Regions from separate parts of the Homo sapiens genome. Here region 2 is linked to region 1. The links are contacts of gene promoters, found by promoter capture Hi-C in blood cells and fetal thymus (Javierre and others, 2016). All regions are on one chromosome and are shown on one strand. Each heading gives the region's core, a stretch centred on a gene start or on the middle of the fragment in contact. The rest is flanking DNA. Distances are from core to core; before and after follow the strand shown.

Region 1 (5,474 bases), core at 850-3,349:
AAAGAAAAGAAAACAAGCTGCTGAGCAGTGGTACTGTTTAGCATTGCTGACACGGCTTAACTTAACACGTTCACATCAGGAATTAGCTCTAGAATTCTTCTAAGTACAGCTGCTCATACCTTCATGGTACATGGAGGTAGAATTGTAAACAAGTCTTTGTCCCTGTTTCCTTCTACTTTACCTCAGGTAACTCCATTTTATGTATCATTTGGAGAAAAAAAAAAGACTATCCATAGAAAAATGTAAAATCAAGAACCATATTAACTTGTGAAAAGTAAGAAAAGTAATTCAAGAGTAAGAAAAGTAACTCAATCCAGATAAATGTTTAATTTTCAGAAGGTGATGACAGAAACAAAAATGTTGCAACTTTATAAAACATTGTATTCTCAAAAAGTATTGCATTTTGCAGGATTTTGTTTTCTTCTTGTCTTTTCTGAGATAGAGTGTTTTCAGATACCAAAAAGAATAATAACCACTGAAAATATAGCTGCTTTTATTACTATAATGCAATGCACTTTTAACTTTTTTCAGTAAATTTCCCTTGCTTCTAATACAATGGAAAAATCTGAGCTATTTATTTATTTTAATTCTGATTGTATGGCTCCTTTATTAGGAAAATAATACGCATTTTCAATGAACAAATTTGCATTGTTGACTAAATAATATTTAAAATTAATATATTGTAATAATTTTGTACTTTAAAATTTAACACTGTATAGATAGGTAAAGAATGTATGAATTTAATTTTTCATAAGATTGGTATGTTTTCATATTAAACTTTTCACCTCCAACATTTACAAATATCTGGAAGTTTTATACTTCTAGAAAGTTAAAGAAAGATGATTCAAATAATGATGGACCCTTCAGTAAGTGGAAAAAGTACATTCGGTAACACTAGCAATCAACCACGCAGCCTACAGAAAAATGATTCACCACCACCCATATGCAGTTTCACCTTAATCTACCACATGTGGAAGATGCTCTCAACTGTGGAAACAGTGTGAATTACAGCCCCATCTTCAGCATAAAAGACATGCATACATACTGTTACACTAGAAAAAAAGGAAGCCTTTTATGGAAGAAAATTACCAATTTTCTTATTTAAGTCTTTTTTTCTTTAAAAATAATTAATGAACACTAGCAGCGTAGCGAGTCTTAAATTTTGCCCTTTCACTTAAAATTTAAACCAAAGCAAATACACTTACCTATTATACCAGATCCTATAATCGAGTTGACAACATTAAAAAGAGCAGCAGACTGACAGGTTTTCTCTTTATACTCATGTTCAGAAACAAGGGTTTCTCTGTCATCTAAATCTCTCTAATAGATAAAATAGCAATTATAAGCAAATACTAGTTCAGAAAATTAGAAAAGTAACAAATATGTAATGCAGGATACTAACACGATTTTCTAGTAATAATAAGTAATGTCACTAATGAAAATAAAATAAATGCCGGGATAACAGTAATAAAGAATAACAATAACAGCTAGTAATTCAACAGAGCTTGGTAAGCAAACTCCATCCTAAAATTTCCAGATTACAGCTGCCCCAGCTGCTAAGTACAGGATCTGTTAGGAATTCAGTGATGTGATTTTGTGAAATTAAAGTGCCTGCTAAGAAAAAAAAAAAAAAAAGTCAGATTAAGGCAAAACTTTTTGTCCCAGAGAACTTTTCGCGGTGCTAAACCAAGAGCCCAGGTGAAGGTAGGTGACCTGACCTGTTGCAAGGTGAATGAAATTTCCGGACAACTGGCTTCAGAACCTGCCTAGTCGCTAGTTTTACCTGCGGCGGGATGACAGGCTCCTGCCTCTGGTAGCCCATGGCTGAGCGGTGGTCCTCAGCAGGTGGAAGATGCTGGGGCTGGGTACGGATTCGCACCCGGCCAGCCTCCTCCGCCACCTCGCACACAGCCGAGGTCCGCGTGTAGCCGCAGAGCTGCAGGGAGCCAGTTCCACGGGCGCCCCCTGCTCCCTCGGCAGGCCGCGAGGGCTGCAGCCCCAAGATCTCTAGGCTGTGGCAGCCTGGGGCGCTTTTCCACCGGAGTTCGCCCAGACAAATGTATTTTTCCTCCGGAGACGGAGATGCTGCAGGATGTTTCTGATCCGGGCAGCCCTGTCTCCCCGCCTCCCCCCTTCACACCCCCGCCTCCCTGAGAGAACAGGGAGAGCTACTCTTCCCTGGAGCTGCAGAGGACAACTTGTTCCACCCACGCTGCCCTGCCCCGATCTCACAGAGTTATGACCGCCTCGTTGCAGTCCGTTCCTAAGTTAGCTTCTCCTTTGCTGGGGTCTGAAGCCCAGGTAAGAACGCAGAAGCACCCTTGGGCCCATGGGCCATCTTCCCTATTAGCACCTCCTCCTCGCTACCCCTCTTCAATGGCAGAGACGACGAGTGAAAATTTGGGACTTTTATTGTAAATGGAAATGGAAAGACTCATAAGAAAATGAATAGCAAAACAAAAAACTTTCCTAGGGTTTTAGCAAACTTGACTACTGAGCATGCTTTGGTCAAACGCTTCCTGGTAACTTTTAGAAAAAGGAGCGATAGAGAAAATGAAGGTGGATTGTTACTGCATTCAGGTAATGAACCTTGAAAAGGGAAAGAGGAGTACAAGGGTTTGGGAAAGGGGTGGCACCTACAGTGCCTGAGCTAGAAAGAATCTTCAATGACCACCTATTCAGTCCTCTTACATTACAGATGAAGCAACAAGCCCAGAGAGTATTCAATATCAGAGACAGAATGCATGAGACAACAGTTTCAGGGGCAATAAGAGCGGTGATATGCCATCATACTTAACAAATTCTGCCTTCCCTTGATATCCATAGGGGATTGGTTCTGGAACCCCTGCAGATACTGAAATCCAGGAATGCTCAGGTCCTTGATAGTAAACAGCATGGTATTTACATGTAACCTAGGCACATCCTCCAGCATACTTTAAATCATCTCTAGATTATTTATAATACCTAATACAATGTAAATGCTATTTACTTGTTGTTATACTGTATTGTTTAGGAAATAAGAAAAAAGTCCATATGTGTTCAGTATAGACACATCCATCCTAGCCCTAACTACATTTTTGATCTGGGATTGGTTTAATGCATGGATGCAGAAGTGGGGATATAGAGGCCAACTGTACCTAATTAAAGAGGTTCTGTTTCATACATGTTTACTTATAATTAAGAAAAAAAATTAAAAACCGTGGGAAAACAAAAGACTTATAAACTTTATATACACTCTGCCATCAAATGTTAACATGCTGTCATATTTTCTTCAAATTGTAAAAGTAAACACAATGTCACAATAGGAACCCCCTTGACCTTCTCCATTCCTTTCCCCAGGCCTTCAGCCCTGGAGTCATCGGTTCATCAAGTTAGTGTTATCTTTGCTATTCATACTTTGTATTTTAATCCGTTCATTTATAGCCATAAACAATATATAACATTGGCTTTTGTATTTTCAACATTTACAAAGATGGTGCCATATTGTACATGTTATTTTTCCACTGGCATTTTTGTTTTCAGCATGTATGATGTAGATATATGCAGATTTTTTTTTCATTTTATCTAACAGTTAAGTCAGCCTTCCCCTACTGAAAGATATTAAGGTTGTTTCTCGTTTTACACTCTTCCAGAGCATAAAAGTGACAATTTCTCTAGATGTAGAAGTGTTAGGTAGTAGGTCATGCACACTTTCAACTTCATTATCATTATTATTATTATTGAGATGGAGTTTCGCTTTTGTTGCCCAGGCTGGAGTGCAATGGTGTGACCTGGGCTTACTGTAACTTCTGCCTCCTGGGTTCAAATGATTCTCTTGCCTCAGCCTCAGGAGTAGCTGGGAATACAGGTGCCTGCCACCACGCCCGGCTAAGTTTTTGTATTTTTAGTAGAGATGGGGTTTCACCATGTTGGCCAGGCTGGTCTTGAACTCCTGACCTCAGGTGATCCACCCTCCTCGGCCTCCCAAAGTGCTGGGATTACAGGTGTGAGCCACTGTGCCTGGCCTTCATTAAATATTTTTGAATTGCTTTGCAAATTGATAACATGAATTTCACTTCTACCAACAGAGGTGAAATTCTTGTTTTTCTACATTGTCTGTAACACCAGGACTTACTTAATCTATTTTTTAAGTTTAATTGTTCTGCTGGATTTTTAAGTGGTGTATAATTATTGTATAGATTTGTATTTTATCCTAATTTACATTGAGGTGGAAGATCTTTTATATAGTAATTAAATATTTCCATTGTTCTGTTTGTGAATTTCATTTTTTTTTGCTCTTTTGATTTTGGTTGTGAATTTTTTCTATTGATTTGTAAGCATAATTTATATATTTGGGGTGGCAACCCTGTGTCAGTTATATGTTTTGTACATATCTTCTCCCATCTTCTCTCTTTCAAATTTTTTTTTAATTCTGTGAAGTTACAGTTTTAATATTAGTAATCTTAATCCTGATACAAGTGCATTGAGAAGGAAAAATTATAACCCTATTTTACTCAAAAATATATATATGCAAAAATTCCAAGGAAAATATTAGCAAATTGAATCTGTCTGTTCACGAAAAGTTAACAATATCATAAAAAAGTTGAATATAGTCCAACTATGAAAGGATGGCTTAGTTAACAAAAAGTTTATAAATATAATTTCCAACATTAGCAGGTAAGAAAAAGCCATGTTATTATTTCACTATATTCAGGAAAAACACTTGATAATGTTGAATTCTTGATTTTAAAAAAACTTTGTAAATCAAAAATATAATACAACTTCCTGATAGTGATAAACTATAGCAAAGTATTTTCGTTATGGGGAAGTTTTGGAAGCATTCCCATTTAATCAGAAGTGAAAAAAATCAATGATTGTGACTTTTATTTAACTTGATATTGGAGTTCCTAAAGTAATAAGAAATAAAAGAGAAATCAGAGGTATGAGAATTGGAAAGCTAAAAATAAAACTGTCATCATTTTTAGATGATAAAATTGTTTATATAGAAAAATCCAAAATAATCTAAGAGAAAAAAATTAGAAATAGAGAGTTTAGAGAGCTGATTAGTATAAGATTAGACTAAAAATATATTAATTTCTCTACAGCAACAGCAAACAACTAGATATTGTAATTAAAAAATATATAATAGTGTCAGAGAATATCTAATACTAAGGAATAAATCCAACCAAAGAGAAAAATGTACACAATCTCTTCAAAGAAAAATATAACAATCAAGATACATTAAAGAAGGCCTAAATAAATTGAGAGATATACCTTATTCATGAATCAGAAAAAATATTCTAAAGATATCAAATCTGACCAAGTTGATCTATTGATTAATAAAATTATTTTCACCACCACATTGACCACAAATCTCTGCCAAAACCTTTCCTTTTTGTTTAATTACAAAAGAAAAATGTTTGTTTTTTTTTAAAGTAGAAAATAAAATAAAAAGGAGAAATTTAAAATGTTCAGTTATTTCCACTCCCAGTGAT
Region 2 (5,474 bases), core at 1,877-4,376, 260 kb before region 1:
GTCATATTTGTTGAATCTAATATATCTTCTAATAAAGGAATACTAATTACTATGCTACACTTAGTAGCTTATTTTGTGTTTCTGGAAGTCACATGGACTAAGTGCTAATCATGTTTTATTTTTTGCCATGAGAATCAATATAAAAAATTAGGAACTTCCAAACTGAAGACTAAAAAATTTAATTACGCTTCTCAGGAAGGAATATTTAGTAACTGATGTAAGTGGCATATGTTATCAAGTAATCTTAAATGTCTTTTTCAAACTGCCAAATACGTATCTTTACCAAAAAATGAGCCAAACAGGGCTCAGGCAATGACTTAAAAGCTTTATTATCTAAACCAAGCTTCCATTGTTTAGGAATGGTATTCTATTCCAAGAAAAATCACAGGCTTTGTGCCCAAGTAAAGAATTAATCTTTGTATCATACTTCTATTCCTGATGCTATATCAAAGTAATAAACATAAATGTAAAATACATGAAAAATATTAAGATAAATGTTGTTATACAATTATGGAAAAATATTTACTTGGCAATATGGTTAACATTCTTTTGCTCTAGGAATGTTTGAAAAAGTAATATTAAATACTTCTGGAACTGTCACACAAATATGAATGTATTCTTTAAACACTATCAGAGTAAGAGTACACAAAGTATTTCTTTAAAATTGCATGAGGATTATCATAAATCATGCTGTGAATTTCATCTTCTCCTTTGACTCTATTATCTGAAGCTAGCAAAATACAACATTTAGTTGACCAAACACTAAGTCAACAACATTCCTTTATGGTAAATATTTAAGGTTAGATAGTGGTTAGATAACAGTTTGGTCAACATACATATTATAGTTGAAAGTTGACACTGAATTAACAAAATGGGGAATTAAGAAAATTACATTTTAAAACTCTGCTTTCAATGTATTTATATGTGAAAATGTACAATATATGCAAGCTGAAGTTGAGTGTATATGATGGAAATCACATAGCTAAGAGATGCTCAGTTATTTTGTCTAGCCTCTCATACTATTATTTTTCCATTTCATTAAGACTATTTCCTTTACTATTACATAGTAATGTAAAATTGGAGAATAAACCAGAAGATTTAGACAAGTTAAAAACAAATTAAGATAACACAGGAAAATAGAACCATTAACTAGTAAATATATCATACAAATGAGCAAAGAAACTTTAAAACATTTGCTAATGACACAATTATATAATGATGACCTTACAGTAATACCTAAACAAGTTATATAAGTTATAATTGTGAGCAAATAATCAGATTTTATGTATCACCACTCTCTTCACTACAATAGCTTAATTTCAGATGAATATGAGTTCAGAGTTAAGTAGCACACAAACATCAACATGCTTGTTAACCCCCATTAAACCATGTCATTAAATTTGAATACTTATTTTTAAAAAGGCTACAGTTACCTTATCAGACACACCAAGCTGTGGGATGTCCACAAATTTATTTACAGAATGAGTCTTCCCTTCCTCTGTGTTGGCTGGAGGTTGGACCAATGCACTGGCACTAGGTGACTCGGTGCGCTCTTTACTGAAAGACTGTGACCTTTTCACTACAGCAAGAGCAAACGGTGAAGGACCAGAACTTGAGTATGGTCGTGGGGCACCAAAAGTTTTCAAAGTCTTCAGATTTTGTGTGGATACCTGACTAGCAGGAATTGTCACAGGTTTTGGAGCTATGGGAGGAGGGGAGGCTTCAGCAGGAGCCTGACCGATGACATCATCATCAGTTTTTTCAACAAGGGGTTGTGGAACAGAGTGAGGCATTTTACTTAAGGGAGAAAGAGTCTGCTCCGGAGAAGGCAGCATATCCCTTTCTGCCTCTTTATTTGTCAGTTCTTTTGGAGCAGGATTAGGGGCAGCATGGACACTCTTGGCAGCTGCAGATGTCACATAGTGACCCGATACTCTCTTCTGCATCTGCAAAAAAAAAGAGCTGGGTTTGGCCTGGGCATTTGAAGCCCGAGATTTAAATTTTGATTCCAAAATATTGTTTATTTCTTCCAAATTTGGTGCAAAAGGAGCTGTGCCAGTGTCTCTTGTCATTTTGGGAGCAGGTTTCAGAGGACTAACCATGGCATCATCAGGTGAGCTCACAGAACTGGGCACTTGATGCTCTGTTCTCAGGTTAGGCTTCGGTTTAAGGTTTGGCAGTGGCTCTTCTGGGCTTTCAGAAATAGCAGAATCTTCTGTTTGGATGGCAGTTTCTTTCACATTCTCATGAGTGTGCTTTTTCCCTAAAGCATGCATGTCCTGATCATCTTTATACTCTATGGTTTCTGATTGCCAGTCTTTCGATATTTCCAAGGATTTGGGAGGCACTATTTTATAAGTAGTCATGCCAATTTTGGGTATATACTCTCGTGTAATTTCATTTGAAGGTTTTGGCTTGGGATTGTAGTCCTGTCTATAAAGTGGGTAATTCTTTAGGTAAGAAGCAGTGGAATTTTTGTCAATCCTATCTACAGGAGGCAAAAGATCATCATTACCATGTGCACAAATTGGATCTTTTACGGTAAGCGGATCTTCTGAATGTATAATTAGGGTGCCTTGACTCCTGAATTCCCTTGAGGTATTTACAGAATCTTGTGAACTTAAGCATGAGTGTTGAGTTGATATGTTGTTATTTGAAGTTTGCACACATTCTTCAACTTTGGAGTCAGATAAATTATGATCTTGGTGTTTCCCATCAAAACTGTTACAAGAAGGGGTTGTCTGAATTGCTGCATCTTTTGTCTTTTCTGCACTGGGTTGATTCAGTTTTTGATCTGGTACTGATGAAGCTGCTAGATGGTTTTCCTTGTAACTTATAGCAGTATCAGTTTCATGTGCCTCAGAGTTTGATGGTCTCTCAACTTCCATATCAATGTTGTTATTTTTGGCAACACCTTCTACATTGATTTCTGTTTTCTTCACTCCATTTTTCATATTGTCTTCTGTGTTCTCTGGATAGACAATTATTTCATTTTGAACTACTGAGAGAAAAAAATCATCAAGTTAAATATATGAAAGAAGTAGAAAACCTCAAGTTTTTAATGCCTACTTTCTCCAACCTGAAATAGTTTGGTTTGAATTCTACAGATAATTTTCAACTCACTGACTATATAAAGGTAGGTAGTAGCATACAGAGAAAACAGTACGTGCTTTGGATTCATACAGACTGAAGTTTGGAATCCCTGGCTTAACTAGTGTGGCCACAACATGTTAATTAACCCCTTTGAGCCTCAGTTTGCTCAGACATAAAAAGGTGAAAATATTTATATTATATGTGTATCATTTAGATAGCATGCTCATTAGTATATTGACCAGAATAAACACTCCATAGAAGGTAAATAAAGTTTTTACTTCTTAGAAGATGTCATTCAGTCATTGTTCATGACAAAAAATAGAAATTGACAAATTCAAAAACTGTATTTTTCCTCTATTTTGACTGTCTTTTCTATAGCCCCTAGCATATTTATATTTTCATACCTAACATTAAAAGGAAAAGAATCCCAGCAAATGCAGTTTTAATGAAGGCCTTAACAGAAAACATTAAGATTTATAGTAAAAACAGAATCTCAGTTGATTGTCTTGTTAACTAGGTATCTTTGCTGAAGGCTGTTAGAGGACTTTATTTTTAGTTATAACATGGGTGATTTCAATGACATGAAATCAGTCATAATGGTTTTGATTTTTCTCTGTTGGAAATAGGCATCCTTATTCTACAGTCAGAGTCAAAATCAAAGTAGAGAAAATAACCTTCCTCTCCCTTGCACTACTTTTCCTCTTGATTCTAATTCAGACCTCCTGAAAACAAAACTCATTTGCCAGTGTCTAGGTTAACAGAGCAACAGCTTCCAGTCAACAACATGATGGCAAAGCACTGGCAGGAGGCATGTGGAAGGAAACAGGGTTTGGAGTCTGCACCATGTGCCCAGTACCGAATTAAGTCATTCCTCTGCTCCTCTATTCAAATGCCCTGAAGAATCATGCTTCCTGCACCATCACTGTGCTTATCTTCAAAACCCTAGTGGCCTTTTCACATATGGCAATAGTTTGCACAGCACAAGTTAAATGTGAGCCTTGGGGGTCAAACTGTGAAATTATGTCAAGTTATTTCTCTATAGTTTTATCATTACCCACTATTACCTATAAGAATGAGATGAAGTACACTGCCTAAAATGTAATAAGCTATATTATATAGTTTCTCTCTTAAAAAAAGAAAAAGAAAAAAGATATGCATGCAGAAAAATATCATGTTAGGTAAATTTGTATACAATTTAAAAACATATCTTCACATTTTTAAACTCTGCCTGATTGCACAGTTATTTGGTTGTGGCAGTTAATATTCTATATTGTGTTGCAAGATTCCTATATTAAACATGTAATTTTAAAATGGAACTCATTTTTATTCTTCCCAGATAAAATGCAACTGAGTATCAGAATACGTACCATCTACTTAGGTGAATTCTTTTCTCAATGACCAATTATTATTAACTATTTTGATTTACAAAATTAAAGACCCATGTTCTTAGGAACCATAGAAGAGGCACATTTCTGCCTCTGCTCTCAATTTACTTGGTTCATAAGTATTTTTCAATGTTCATATGAAAAACACTATTTTGAACAGTTATAAGCATGAAAGAATTTAAGAAACAATCTCTGGCAGCAGGAAATGAGTCTAAATGTATTTCCTTCTTTCTTTCTTATTTCTAATTTTCCACTGAGTATATGTATTTCCCAGAAATATTTTCCAAAAGAAAGAAAGTCAATGTAAACATATATTTTAAATTGAATCCCCGTTTAAAAACCCTAATTTATTGGTTTTAGAATTATAAGTCTCTCTTTTTCATATTTTTGGTAGGTTACACCTACTTTACCATTGTCTAACTCTGAATTTCTTCTCAACATTTCATGATCATTTCCAGTGATTGGCAGTCCTGGAAACCCAGAATCCATCCTCATATACAACTGACAATGATGTTAACCAAGTGTTTATAAATGGCTAGATCATTTTCCAAGAATGGCCAGTAGAGGGAGAAGGTATCTTTTATACTATAGTGACCCTCTACTCAAAAGTGACACTGACATTGACAAACTTACAAGAAGGTGATTTAGATAAGGGTAGGTAAAAAGGAAAACAGAATAAAACTACTTTAAGAATAATAGACATTATTTACTTTAAAAAACAACTAGAGTTGACAAAAGTCGTAGCAAAACAAACCATATGCAAATCAAAGTACTACGTAAATGTACTTGTGACTCTGGCACTAACTTGACAACAAAAGTCTTAACAAAAATGATACAACTTGACTATTGTTTTAAAGAGAAAGAAGCAGCTTTTAAATCATAATTTCTCAATAGGAATGCTATTGCCATCACAGTACATGCTGTGAAAAACTGACTCAAGTGGAAAAGAATGAAAAAATTATTTGCTTTTAGACCTTCTCAGTATGATATCTCACA

Evidence for each region. Contacts are between HindIII fragments. The CHiCAGO score rates a contact against its expected background, and 5 or more counts as called.
Region 2: a fragment that was not itself captured here is called in contact with the fragment with the promoter of SLC38A11 in region 1 in 1 of 17 cell types (total B cells); the score reaches 5.6 in total B cells.

The regions. Positions count from the first base shown.
Region 1 is chr2:164,953,426-164,958,899 of GRCh38, forward strand. SLC38A11 (solute carrier family 38 member 11) reads right to left here and starts at 2,100. Exons shown (of 12, transcript NM_001351537.2): 1 at 1,784-2,100; 2 at 1,206-1,320. The coding sequence starts at 1,822. The HindIII fragment of the contact is 8,780 bases long and covers 1-5,474 here.
Region 2 is chr2:164,692,836-164,698,309 of GRCh38, forward strand. COBLL1 (cordon-bleu WH2 repeat protein like 1) reads right to left here. Exons shown (of 14, transcript NM_001365672.2): 12 at 1,434-3,001. Among named protein-coding and RNA genes, the nearest start is that of SNORA70F, 7.8 kb to the left of the region's middle. The HindIII fragment of the contact is 5,570 bases long and covers 342-5,474 here.